Linked DNA regions of Homo sapiens: region 1 is linked to region 2. The links are contacts of gene promoters, found by promoter capture Hi-C in blood cells and fetal thymus (Javierre and others, 2016). All regions are on one chromosome and are shown on one strand. The core of a region is centred on a gene start or on the middle of the fragment in contact, and the rest is flanking DNA. Distances in the headings are between cores, read along the strand shown. Region 1 overlaps VPS41 (VPS41 subunit of HOPS complex). Region 2 holds the start of RALA (RAS like proto-oncogene A).

The links. The method cuts DNA at HindIII sites, captures the fragments that hold promoters and counts their contacts. A CHiCAGO score of 5 or more calls a contact.
Region 1: a fragment that was not itself captured here is called in contact with the fragment with the promoter of RALA in region 2 in 1 of 17 cell types (neutrophils); the score reaches 6.0 in neutrophils.

The regions. Positions count from the first base shown.
Region 1 is chr7:38,791,026-38,796,469 of GRCh38, reverse strand. VPS41 (VPS41 subunit of HOPS complex) reads left to right here. Exons shown (of 29, transcript NM_014396.4): 9 at 859-1,005. Among named protein-coding and RNA genes, the nearest start is that of VPS41, 120 kb to the left of the region's middle. The HindIII fragment of the contact is 7,889 bases long and covers 1-5,444 here.
Region 2 is chr7:39,620,269-39,625,729 of GRCh38, reverse strand. RALA (RAS like proto-oncogene A) reads right to left here and starts at 2,158. Exons shown (of 5, transcript NM_005402.4): 1 at 1,905-2,158. It overlaps LOC107986785 (a long non-coding RNA gene), which reads left to right and starts at 2,253. Exons shown (of 2, transcript XR_001745175.2): 1 at 2,253-3,297; 2 at 4,116-5,461. RefSeq lists silencers at 955-1,004, 1,599-2,108 and an enhancer at 1,435-2,282. The HindIII fragment of the contact is 9,610 bases long and covers 1-5,461 here.

The DNA.
Region 1 (5,444 bases), core at 1,784-4,283, 830 kb after region 2:
TGAAGGACTGCATTGGGAATGGGTCTTGAAAATATCATTTGCCTGTTGGCCAAAGGCAAGTAAGAGTTGATATGAAACAAGTGCAGAATATTGCTGATTTCTCTTTTACTCCCAGTATAATCATAGACAGAAGTATAGACCTGTCTGTAAGAAAGTGGATCGTAATTTTCAGTGCTGCATTTTAACTTAAAGTTTACTTGCTATGAATTGGGGCTAGTAGGAAGTTTTAAAAATGGTCTTTTTGACATCTGGCATATCTTTTGAAACATCAAGGTATAATTTAGTAAATCGGTTCTATTCAGTTTTAAATGGTAGAAATCTGCCTAGACTCTACCTTTTTATTCTGGACTTTTCTTACTTCTCCTGGGTCACGATGAAGGTAAAACAAAGCTGTGGTCTCTTGGTTCATTTTTAGTTAGCTGCTTGCCTGATGTTTTCATTTGAGAACTTTAAAATGTCAGATGTAGTTTTCTTTATATAGGTGGCTTTTCAGACTCAAAGCCTTTCTAAAAAACAAACTTCATTTTTCATGGTGGAACGATAAAATTAGAAATGTTACTTGTCTGTCAGTTTGGAAATGCAGCTATTGATGTTTGTACATTTCATGTTTCTGTTGGGTTTGAGTCACCCATGCCATCTAAGAAAATCTCCTTTGTCCAGAAAGAAGGGTGGAGGTTTCCTTGTGGTTTTAGTTCCCACAGGGTTTGTGTGGAGCAGGAGCATTTTCCTTGCATGCTCAGTAAACACTGCTAATATTTCTCCGTGCTGGTTATTGGTAGTATGTAGCAGGGGCTGTTAATAAGTTTTCTGTTACTTTCCTCCTGAGTAGAGGATGCTTACTGCTGTATTATTTTCCAGGGTGTGAAGATTTTTGACATCATCTCAAAGCAAAGAATCACCAATGTGCCCCGGGATGATATAAGTCTTCGCCCAGACATGTATCCCTGCAGCCTCTGCTGGAAGGACAATGTGACACTGATTATTGGCTGGGGGACTTCTGTCAAGGTGGTTTTGCTTGTCTTTATAATAAGTCCGTGTTGTTATAGATCCACTGAGGGTGGTCCAAAGGACTGTGAGTCTTGATTGGCTTCTAGGACCCAAATCTTTTCACTTGGATGTTATTGTGACGTGATTACCATTTAATGCTCAAATTATTTCCTGTGCATAAGTTTTAAGATGTATTCTTTCTTTTCCATGGCATGTAAAACTATTTGTGAACTTTTTCGTGTTGAGAATGGTGCTGTCTTTTTCAATCTTCTTTTAATTTCTCACATCCCAGCTGGCCTTAGCTATTTACAGAACATGGGGTTAGTTTTGTTGTTTAGTCAGGTTTTCTTCTCTTTATTATTCTTTTCATTTTCCCTTAGCTTTGACCCTTCACTTCTTCATTAGAGTTATTGATAGTGGAGAGAGAAGGTTAAAATTAAATCATCCTGCTGCTTGGTAATAATTTGATAGAGTAGAGACCCAGACTTATCATCAATAATAAGATTTGGGCATATTTTCTGAAGTTTAATTATCTGACCCTTATGCGCCTGGGTAAATGAAATTTAGCTGTTCTGTGAAAGGGGGCCCAAAGCTCATTCACATTTATTTTATGCCTACTAGTGCTTCTGTTATATTAGATACTTCAGAGCCAAAAGTTGTTTCCCTTTAAAAAATAGACAGCTTAATTCGAACAAAATAAACTAAAAATTAGTGGAAGTATAAAAATGGCATGAGAGAGTATCCCAGCAGTAGTCTCATGGAAGAGCTCAGGCTTTGAGGCCAGACAGACCTGGGATCAAGTCCAGCTTCTCCATTTTCCTTTGGGATCCTCTGTGAGCCTTACTGTCCTCATCTGCAAAGTGGTAGTGCTAATTGTTCTCACATCACAAGTTTTGGGGAGAAATAAATGAGCCAATGCATGTAAAGAGTTTTGCATAGAATCTGATGTAATTGCTTAATAAATGTTAGCTGTCATTATTATATAAAGTTCTAGCAATGTCATGAAGGGGACGTGGCTATTTAAAATGTACTCTTCTCTGGAAAGGGAAAGTGGAAAATTATTAATGTAATGATTGTTATTAGCAAAACAAACATTGTTACACTTCAGGCCCTCCCAGCCCTCATGTTGTTATCATTCAGGTTCTTTTTTCTTCATGTGTTACATGAACACAACCTGATTTATATTTAGGGTAACAGGAAGGAAACTGTGCCTATATCGTAGGATGGAAAAAGGGATTCCCTGGGCTCCCTGTCCCACGTGTGTGGTTACTCATCCAATAAATTTATATTCTTAGTATTTTAAAAATCCCTTAAATGGACCAGGTTGCTTGTTAGTTTTAAAGTTCTGATTTTCTTTTCTTATGGTGAAAGACAAGGAAAATTAGCCTGTAGAAATATGTAACAAGTTTACTCATTACTCCCAGAAATTCTTTCTCTGGTATGCTGAATAATGGCCCCAAGGATAGCAAGCCCTAATTCCTAGAACCTATAAATGTTTCTTTATATGACAAAAAGGTAAATATTACTTTATTTAGCAAAAGATATGATTAAGTTAAGGATCTTGAGATGGGGAATTAACCTACATTATCTGGGTGGGCCCTAAATGCAATCACGTTTATCTTTATGAGAGGGAGGCAGAGGGAGATGCTAACATGGAAGAGAGGAGGAGAAGGCAGTACCACTGTGGAGGCAGAAATTGGAGTGAGGTGGTCAGTGAATGGTGGCAGCCACCAGAAAGCTGGAGGAGACAGCAGATTGTCCCCTAGAGCCTCCAGAGGAAGTACAGCCTTGCCAACACCTTGATTTTAGCCCAGTGAACCCAATTTCAGACTTGTAGCCTGCGGAACTGTAACAGATGTTTAAAACAACATCTCTGTTGTTTTAAACCACCAAGTGTGGCAGTCTGTTATAGCAGCCATGGGAAACATATACCCTTTCTTTATGCCCAAGTTAAGATCCAGCTTCTATACAATTTTTATGTCAAATATTTCATTTTATTGGAGGTTCCTTTTCTTCAAACTCAGTTCTATATGTTGAGCACTTCTCAGTGTAGACTCTTAGTGAGTTCTGTTGAAGGAAGAGGAGATAAGGACGTGGTCTTTCTTCAGAGGGACAGCAATCTTGTTGGGGAGAAGCAACCAGAAACAGTAAAATAAAGTGTGCAATTGGACCTTACCATTTACTTCATTCATTCATTTGCCCAACAAACGTTTACCAGGTGCCTGCAGTGTGCCAGGCAGTGTTCTAGTGTTGCAGAACACAAATATACAAATGAATGAGTTCCTTCCCTTGGGAAATTTATGTTCTAGTGAGGAAGGTGGACAAAAACAAGTAAGTATAGCATGTTGAAGGTGGCAAATAAAAAGGAGAACATTTTAACAGGATAATAGGAAAAGGGATTGGGGTAGGTACCATTTAATATAGGGTGGTCCAGGGATGGCCTGTCCAATAACTAATATGTTGTTTGGTCAGAGATCTGGAGAGAAAAGTTATACAGCTCTATGGGGGCCTGGGGTAGGAGGTGTTAGCAGAAGGAGCAGGAGTGCAAAAATTCTTGAAGCAGGAGTGTGATTGGTGTGCTTTTGAGGAACAGCAAGGAAGCTGTTTGTGTCAGAGTGAGTGGAGCAGATGTGGAGGAGAGGGATGTAAGTGGGGGTCGGGGAGGGTGTGGTGGAGGAGCAGGTGATGTTGGAGCCCAGGGGCCCTTGAGAAGTCTTTGGCTTTTAATTTGACTGAGGTAGGAAGCCAGCACAGGGCTTTGAGCTGTTGTGGAGTCAGTTAAGTGATCTAACTTGTATTTTGGAAGGATCTCTGGTTGCTGTGTGGAGCTAAACGGCAAAGGGGCAGTCAAGAGGGGAGACCAATTAGGCTACCGCAGTCATCTCCATAAAAAATAATGTTGTCTCAGGTCAGTGTAATGCAGCTGGTGAGAAATGACCAGATCCTGGATATATTTTGATGGTAGACTCTGCAGTATTTGTTGACAGTTGGATGTGGGGTGTAAGATCACAGTCACCTAACATACTGGAAGGTGAAACTACCTTTTGCTGAAATGGGAAAGACTGTTGATAAAGCATGTTTAGAGTGAAAAAGGCAAGAGTTGGTTTTAGGTGTGTCTACTTGAGAGATGCCTGTTATCCACCCATGTGGAGAAGTGGAGGAAGCAGATTAGAGTTCATGGGCAAGAACCCACCTATCAGTGGTAAAGGGCTCTTACAGTCATTGATTTGTGCTTATGCAAGACATGAGCTTAAGGTAGCACTTACCTATTCACCCACCTTTACCTGCCACTTCCTACCTATGAGACAGGTGCTGGGTGAGCCCAGACCACAGAGCTGAGGAGTGCAGTAGAGCCATGCCCAGCTACCAGTAGTGCAATGCATCCTTGTTCTCAAGCTGTGGCATGACCAGCGAGATACCAGTCAGGCCTTGGTGTGAATTCCAGCTCTGGCCAGGCAGTCTGGCATCACTCACAGAGCCTCAGTGTCCTCATCTCTGGATTAAACATAATAACATTGTCTTTCAGGGGTGTCTGAGTGTTGGAAGACTGTCAGCCCTCAAGTTCTGTCAATGTCTCTCAAATCTCTGCACTTCATCTTCCTGTCAAGTCTTTTTGGTGCTGGTTTTACCCCCCCTAAACCTATCCTAAACAGTATAGCTAGAATAATCTAAGTGCAGGTCAGATGAGGTCAGTCCCCTCCTTGCCCATAGGATAACTGATCATAAACATGACTTCCAAGGTTCTTTGTGATCTGCCTCTCCGTTACTCTCCAGCCTCAACTCTGTCCCCTTCTTCCCCCATGCCCTTCATTTCTGTCCGATTGAGCTTCCAGTTGAAGGCCCTATGCTGTCATATCACCGTGTTCTCCTGTGTTGTCTCTCCTGCTTCAACTTACATGTCACTTCTTCCAGGAAGTCTTCCTGCCCTAGCAGGAGATGCCCCTGCTCTGTACTTCCCTGTCACACTTCAGTAAAGTGCCTTATTTTTGTGTCTCCCCCACTGCACCATAATCTTAAGAAAATAATGATATCTATTTCACAAAGGCCTTAACTCAGGAGCACTGCCAGTAACTGCCCAAAAAAGTGTTCACTAATATTGCCGATACATTTGCTTTTTTATTATACTTCAAACCATTTGAAAGACTGTTCCTCATGTACTTATATCAGCACATTAAAACAGTTGTCCATTTGGCATTGTGGAATGTGCCATTAGATGATTTAGTAGTTTCCCTAGTAAGTGTGGGAAGAAGAGTGGATAACTTATAAGCTCAAAAGTCTACCAGAAGGGAAGAAAATTGGAGAAGTGGACAGGCAGTTATATGAAACGGACAAGAGACAAATGGCAAAAAGCAATCAAGGAAGAAGACAGCCGGTCACTTCTATGTGGAGGCTTCTACCTCTGCAGCCATGGGTTCAAGCCCCGCCTGAGGGAAAGTGGGCACTCTGCATTCACTGAG
Region 2 (5,461 bases), core at 909-3,408:
TATAATTAGCCCTTTCTTCCTTTGGAAAGCCCTGTGAAGAAAGTGTTGTAATGAAGTACTGCTTCAAAATAAATGATCCATATTATTGCACACTCAGCAAACACACTAGAGAACAGCATCTGGATCTTGGAAAATAAATGTAAAAGAGGCTATTGGTAAATCATGCCAAGGTCACATCAGGATTTCAGAGGATTGCGTGTATTCATGGGAAGAATGAACCACTATAAGCATTCTGGGAAGCACCACGTTATCCAAACAATGGTAACTCCTAATTTCCTCTTTTTCATTAAGATAGGGTACAGTTATCAACCCCAAACATAAACTTGATGTGTATCACCAGGCAGTCTCTTCCTACTAACTCTGAATATGCTCAAGTAGTAAGCATTTAACACTAGAATACAAGTTATAATGCCCAGCACAATTTTAATATAATTTTAACCTTTCAGAGGAGGATAGTTTTGGAAGGCAAAGAACTCTGACTGCTGAAGAATGAAACACGAAGTAAAGTCTGTAAGTGGCAAGAACCTAAAACAAAACAAACAGCCTAGCCCAACAAAAATAAGCAACTCCTGGATGGTGACTGTGAGATAACCTATACACTCATTCATTCAGTGCAGAAATGTGTGAACAGCTTCTATGTTCAAGGCATACTGCATAGAAACAGTCATAAGTAGGACATGGCTCCTGCCCTAAAGAAATCCAAGGTCAAAAAACGGTGTTGTCAGATAATACTTCACAATAATAGTGTATTATTTTAATACAGGAGTCGGTTTAGAATAATATTGTATTACCAGAGACAGAAAAACATGAGCTAATAAGACACACTGAAATACATTAATAAACATACTGTAAGAGTTTACCAATGAAATCTGTTATCCAATTTCTGGAATATGATTAAAGTTGCAATTTACTTTCTGGAAAAGAATTAACTTATGATACATGTTTTATAAAGGTTGTTCCCCCCCCACACCACACAATTTGTAAATTAGGTGCTTTTCAGCTTGACACGTAGGGCGTGGCACGGGACTTCTCACACTACCTCAGCCACACTTGGATGAGCTCTTACAAGTCTGGACATTCAGGTTTCCGAGCACAGGCCAGTTAACTCCCTAATTCTCCCTAAATCCTGAAACAACACTGCCACCCCTGTGTGCCGTCACCCCCGTCTACTTAAACACATATATCCAGGCTAAAGCATGCCAATCACATCTTCCACTTCTGGAAATCTTTCAGAAACGAACCACAGAGGAAACACCTCTCTCCCAAAATGTATTCTCTTCCTCATATTAGAAGCTAGATTACCTGAAAATGGGCTAAAGCTGTGCAAGCGCCCAAGGCCAGGTATTCAGTTCAGTGCGGAGAGTCTAATGACTTTAAGTCTGAAAAACCATTCCTTTAACTGGCAAAAAAAAAAAAAAACACAAACAAACAAAACAAACAAACAAAAAACCCTGGCGGAGATGCTTAAAAAGCAGCGGCTCTAGCACAGGCAAGGAGTGGAAAGAAAGGGAAGGAGGGGAGAGGGGTGGAGTGAGGCGCGGGGACTGCGGCGGCAGCGGGTTGCCCCAGGTCGCGGGCACCGCCCGGGCGGGAACTTGGGCGCCGTGGACGAAAGGTGCGGGGTGACCTTCGGACGAGGCCAACTGAGACCGGCTGCCGGGCGCAGGGGACCTCTCCGCAGCCGCTCACTCTCGGGGGCTCACTCGCCCCACAGCGGCGAACGCGGTGCCCCGGATTCCAGCCGGGCTCATCTCGCAGCTCGTCCCCGGGCAGAACGTGGGATGTGCAATCTCGGCAGCCCGAACCCGCGTCAGGGCCTCGGCCCGCCGCCGCCCGGACACACCCCCGCCGCCGCCCGGGTGGCCCCAGTCCCTCCCCGGGCGGCCCGAGCGGGCATCGCTCACCTGCACCGCGAGCCAGTCCGCCGCCCCGAGGGCTCCGGAAGCCGCGGCTGCGTGGCTCCGGCCGGAGGGTACTCGGTCCTTGTCGCCTGGAAGGCCCCGCGCCGGGAGCGGTCGAAGGAGGAGTCTGACGGGTGGCGGGGGAGCCTGGGCGGCTGGAGGAGGAGGAGGAGGAGGAGGAGAAGGAGGAGGAGGACTCCGACGCTTTGCTCTGGGGAGATCCACCCTCCTCCTGGCGGCTCTGCAGCAGCCGCCACAGATCACTTCCGGGGCGCTGGGGAGCGGGGCGGGGCAGCTGGGGAGCGACTTCCTGTCCGTGGGCTGAGAGGAGGGTGATCATGGGCCTGGGCCGCAGAACAGTGGCTCGGAGGGCGCAGGCTGCCCGGCCTCCGCCCCCTGCAAGCTGAGGGCTGTCCGCGCTGTCTTTCCGACGGCCCCACCCCCGGCTCTCTGAGCTCCGCGAGGTGAAGTCATCTCCCGGGGGCTCGGGAGTGGCCGCGGGCCTCGCGGAGGTTCCCGGATCTCGGCGTCGTTGCCGCGGTGTCCTTGTCTTTCTTTTGGGGACCAGGAGGGGGTTCTTGGGGGAAGGAGGGGAGAGCGGAGGCCGCCATCTTGCTTCTAGAGGGTCAGCTCATGTTCCCTGGGCGTCTCAGGGTTGAGGCCGCTCGTGTGGCGTGGCCGGGGGTATTCAGAGCGGAGCTGGCGACGTGGCTTGTCACGGGCCAAATCCCAGGAGGCGGGTCAGCCGCCTACCCTGGCTGGAGGGTCTCGTGGCTGCCCTGGGCCTCATCTAACTGCTGATCCCCTGGAGAATTCGCTTTCTCGGACGGTCTGCGAGTTCTTTCTGAGGGGTGTCGGACCCCCCTGCGACTCTGCAGGTGTCGGTGTGGCACTGAGATCATCTTGCGGCCCCATGGCACTGTGATTTGGTAGCTTGTGAGAAGTAGTTTCACTAAATCCGTAAATTTAAGTTAGCAGCTACAGATTCTTATGTCTTGACATTTATTCGCTTATCTCTCTTTGCTCCCCACAAATTGAGTACCAACTATATTCCTGGTATGAGCCATTCAAGGAATGTCCAGTCTAGTGGGCAGACATACATGAAAGCAAATCATTGCTATTGGAAGTATGGTTTATCAAGATGTACAGCGTGAAGAATGGATAGCTTTACTAACGTAGGTTAGAGTTTTAAAGATAAATAGGCATTTTCTACTACAAAAATAGGGGTGGGATGGCAAATCCGGATCCGAACAGAAAGGAGATGCAGCACGGGGACAAATAATTTGTTGAGAAGAATGAGTAATAATTACAGGTCTTGAAGTTCAAACTTAGGTTGCTGAAGAAGATGAGGCTGGAGAAGAAAACAGGAGCCAAATCACGAATCGTCTATGCCTTGGTGAGGCAATGAGTGGACAGATTACAATTTAAGCTATTCTTCTGTTGGTAGAGAACAGATAACTTGGGGGGGTGGAGGTGGGGGGGCAGAGAAGGATAAGCAGAGAGCCCACAAGGGGGCCATTGCAGAAGCCAGTAAGAGAAAACTTAAGGACCCTGTGTGAATGGTAGTGAGCATCCAAAGGAGATGGATTCCTAAAATATTCAAGAGGCCATATCAACTGGTAATTGGTTGCTAGGGGCAGCTGCCAGATAGGAGAATGGAAGAGGCAATGATGATGCCTTGTTTTGCTTTGAGGGAGGGGCAGGATAAGGGTGTATTTTACTAAATAAGATAAGGAAGAGTTAGGATGAGTCCTGGGAGGGGACATTTTTGCAGAAAAAAAATGAGTTCAGTTTTGGAGTTGATGAGTGAAGTAAGAGTGGTGCTGTCTAATGGTGGTTGCTATATGGGTCTAGAGCTCTAGGGAGGAGCTGGGCTGAAGTTGGAAACACCACAGGTTTAGATGACCATAACCAAGCTGACTGCAGTCTTACGTCATTGAGCACAGTTTCAAAACCACTTCTCCTTTCTCCCTGCCTTTACTTGGGAAAATTACTGAAATACTGCATTAAAAAACCCAATATGGTGATATGTGTCCATCCATAGACCAATATTCTAATGTTTAATGGTCTTCTAAGGACCCTAAAGGTCAGGTTTAGCAGAAACTGGATGTAACAGTGGTAACTATTAATAGTATAGCATCATTAACTCATAAAATGAAATATTATCTATGTTTATATTTTAATATTTTAATTTTTTTCTTTTTTATTCTGTAGGAATTGCTCCATTCCAATAAAAATATTTTAAATTTAATCATTGACAACAGTTAAGCTGGCCATAGGCTGAGGATTGAGGATGGTGGGTTGCACAAATATCTGCTGAATGGAGAGCTAGAAGGAGGATGACTTCAAGAAGAGTCAGCAATAGGAACGCAATGAAAGACAACCTCAAATTCATTAGTCAGCCTGTCTCAGCTGCTTTTTGGTGGCTCACAGCTATGCTAACCTAGCATAAAGCAGTGAGAAATAGAATACTTCATTTTGAGCAGAGCTTCAGAAAACCACAAATAGTAAAAGCCCTATAAATAATAGCTACAGCTGCAAACCAAAGACTAATTATTAGTTTTTAACTCTATATCCCTGTAGAGCAGCATTTTTGAACACACAAAAAAAGAGAAACGCGTTCACTTACGTCTTAGATTATTTAAATACAGTATTCTCAATTTGTCTAGGATAAAAAAGCATTTAGGTGTATTGAACAACCATATAATGGATAATATACTGAACAGGAAATGAGAATAATTAGCTTGAGTCCCTTTTTTGTCAGTTGTTCACCGTATGACCCTAGCAATGTTACTTAACCTCTCTATGCCCTAGTTTCTCTGACTGTAAAATAGAGATAATAATAACTTTCTATCAGCCGCCTCTCAAAGATATTATAGGAAATAACAAATTAATGCTATGAAAGCTCTTTGAGGTACTTGGATGAAAGGGCATAATTGTAAGTACATATTATTAGTAATTAGCACTAATATCCAGTAGCACCCATGAGCATTCCTGACTTTGCTGCCTGGATTACTCAAAGAACATGAAGGATCCTGTTTTGAAATACACTTAGATCTTTTTTCTTAACTTGTGAATTGACTTTACTATTTATGATCAAACCTTGTGTATTAACAAATATAGTTAATGAAAGAGGGAAGTAAAAAGAAGTTTTGGTAACCACAACTTTTATATTCATGCTACTCATAGCTAATATATGCTTTGGGGGAAAATACAGGGTAGATAGGGATTTGCCAGAAGCATGTTTTAGAATTAATGATTAGTCTACTCCAGTCAGTTAACTGGAATTTTGTATTAAAAACATTATTCATGTCCCCATAGAATAATGCAGTCCCTATAGAATTTATAGACAGTTACATGTTTGACACAATTAAGTTGAACATTCCTGTGAAACTCTGTCATTCTCATCACTGTTTAATCACAAACATGTAATGAAATATATAGACTTGTGAAGTTTTGTCCAATGTCTATCCCTAAAGTAGATGAGAATTTTTTCCATTAAATTGGTGACTTCAGTATTTCCTTTAGAGAGGTGTATGCATAATGTAAACATTTAAATG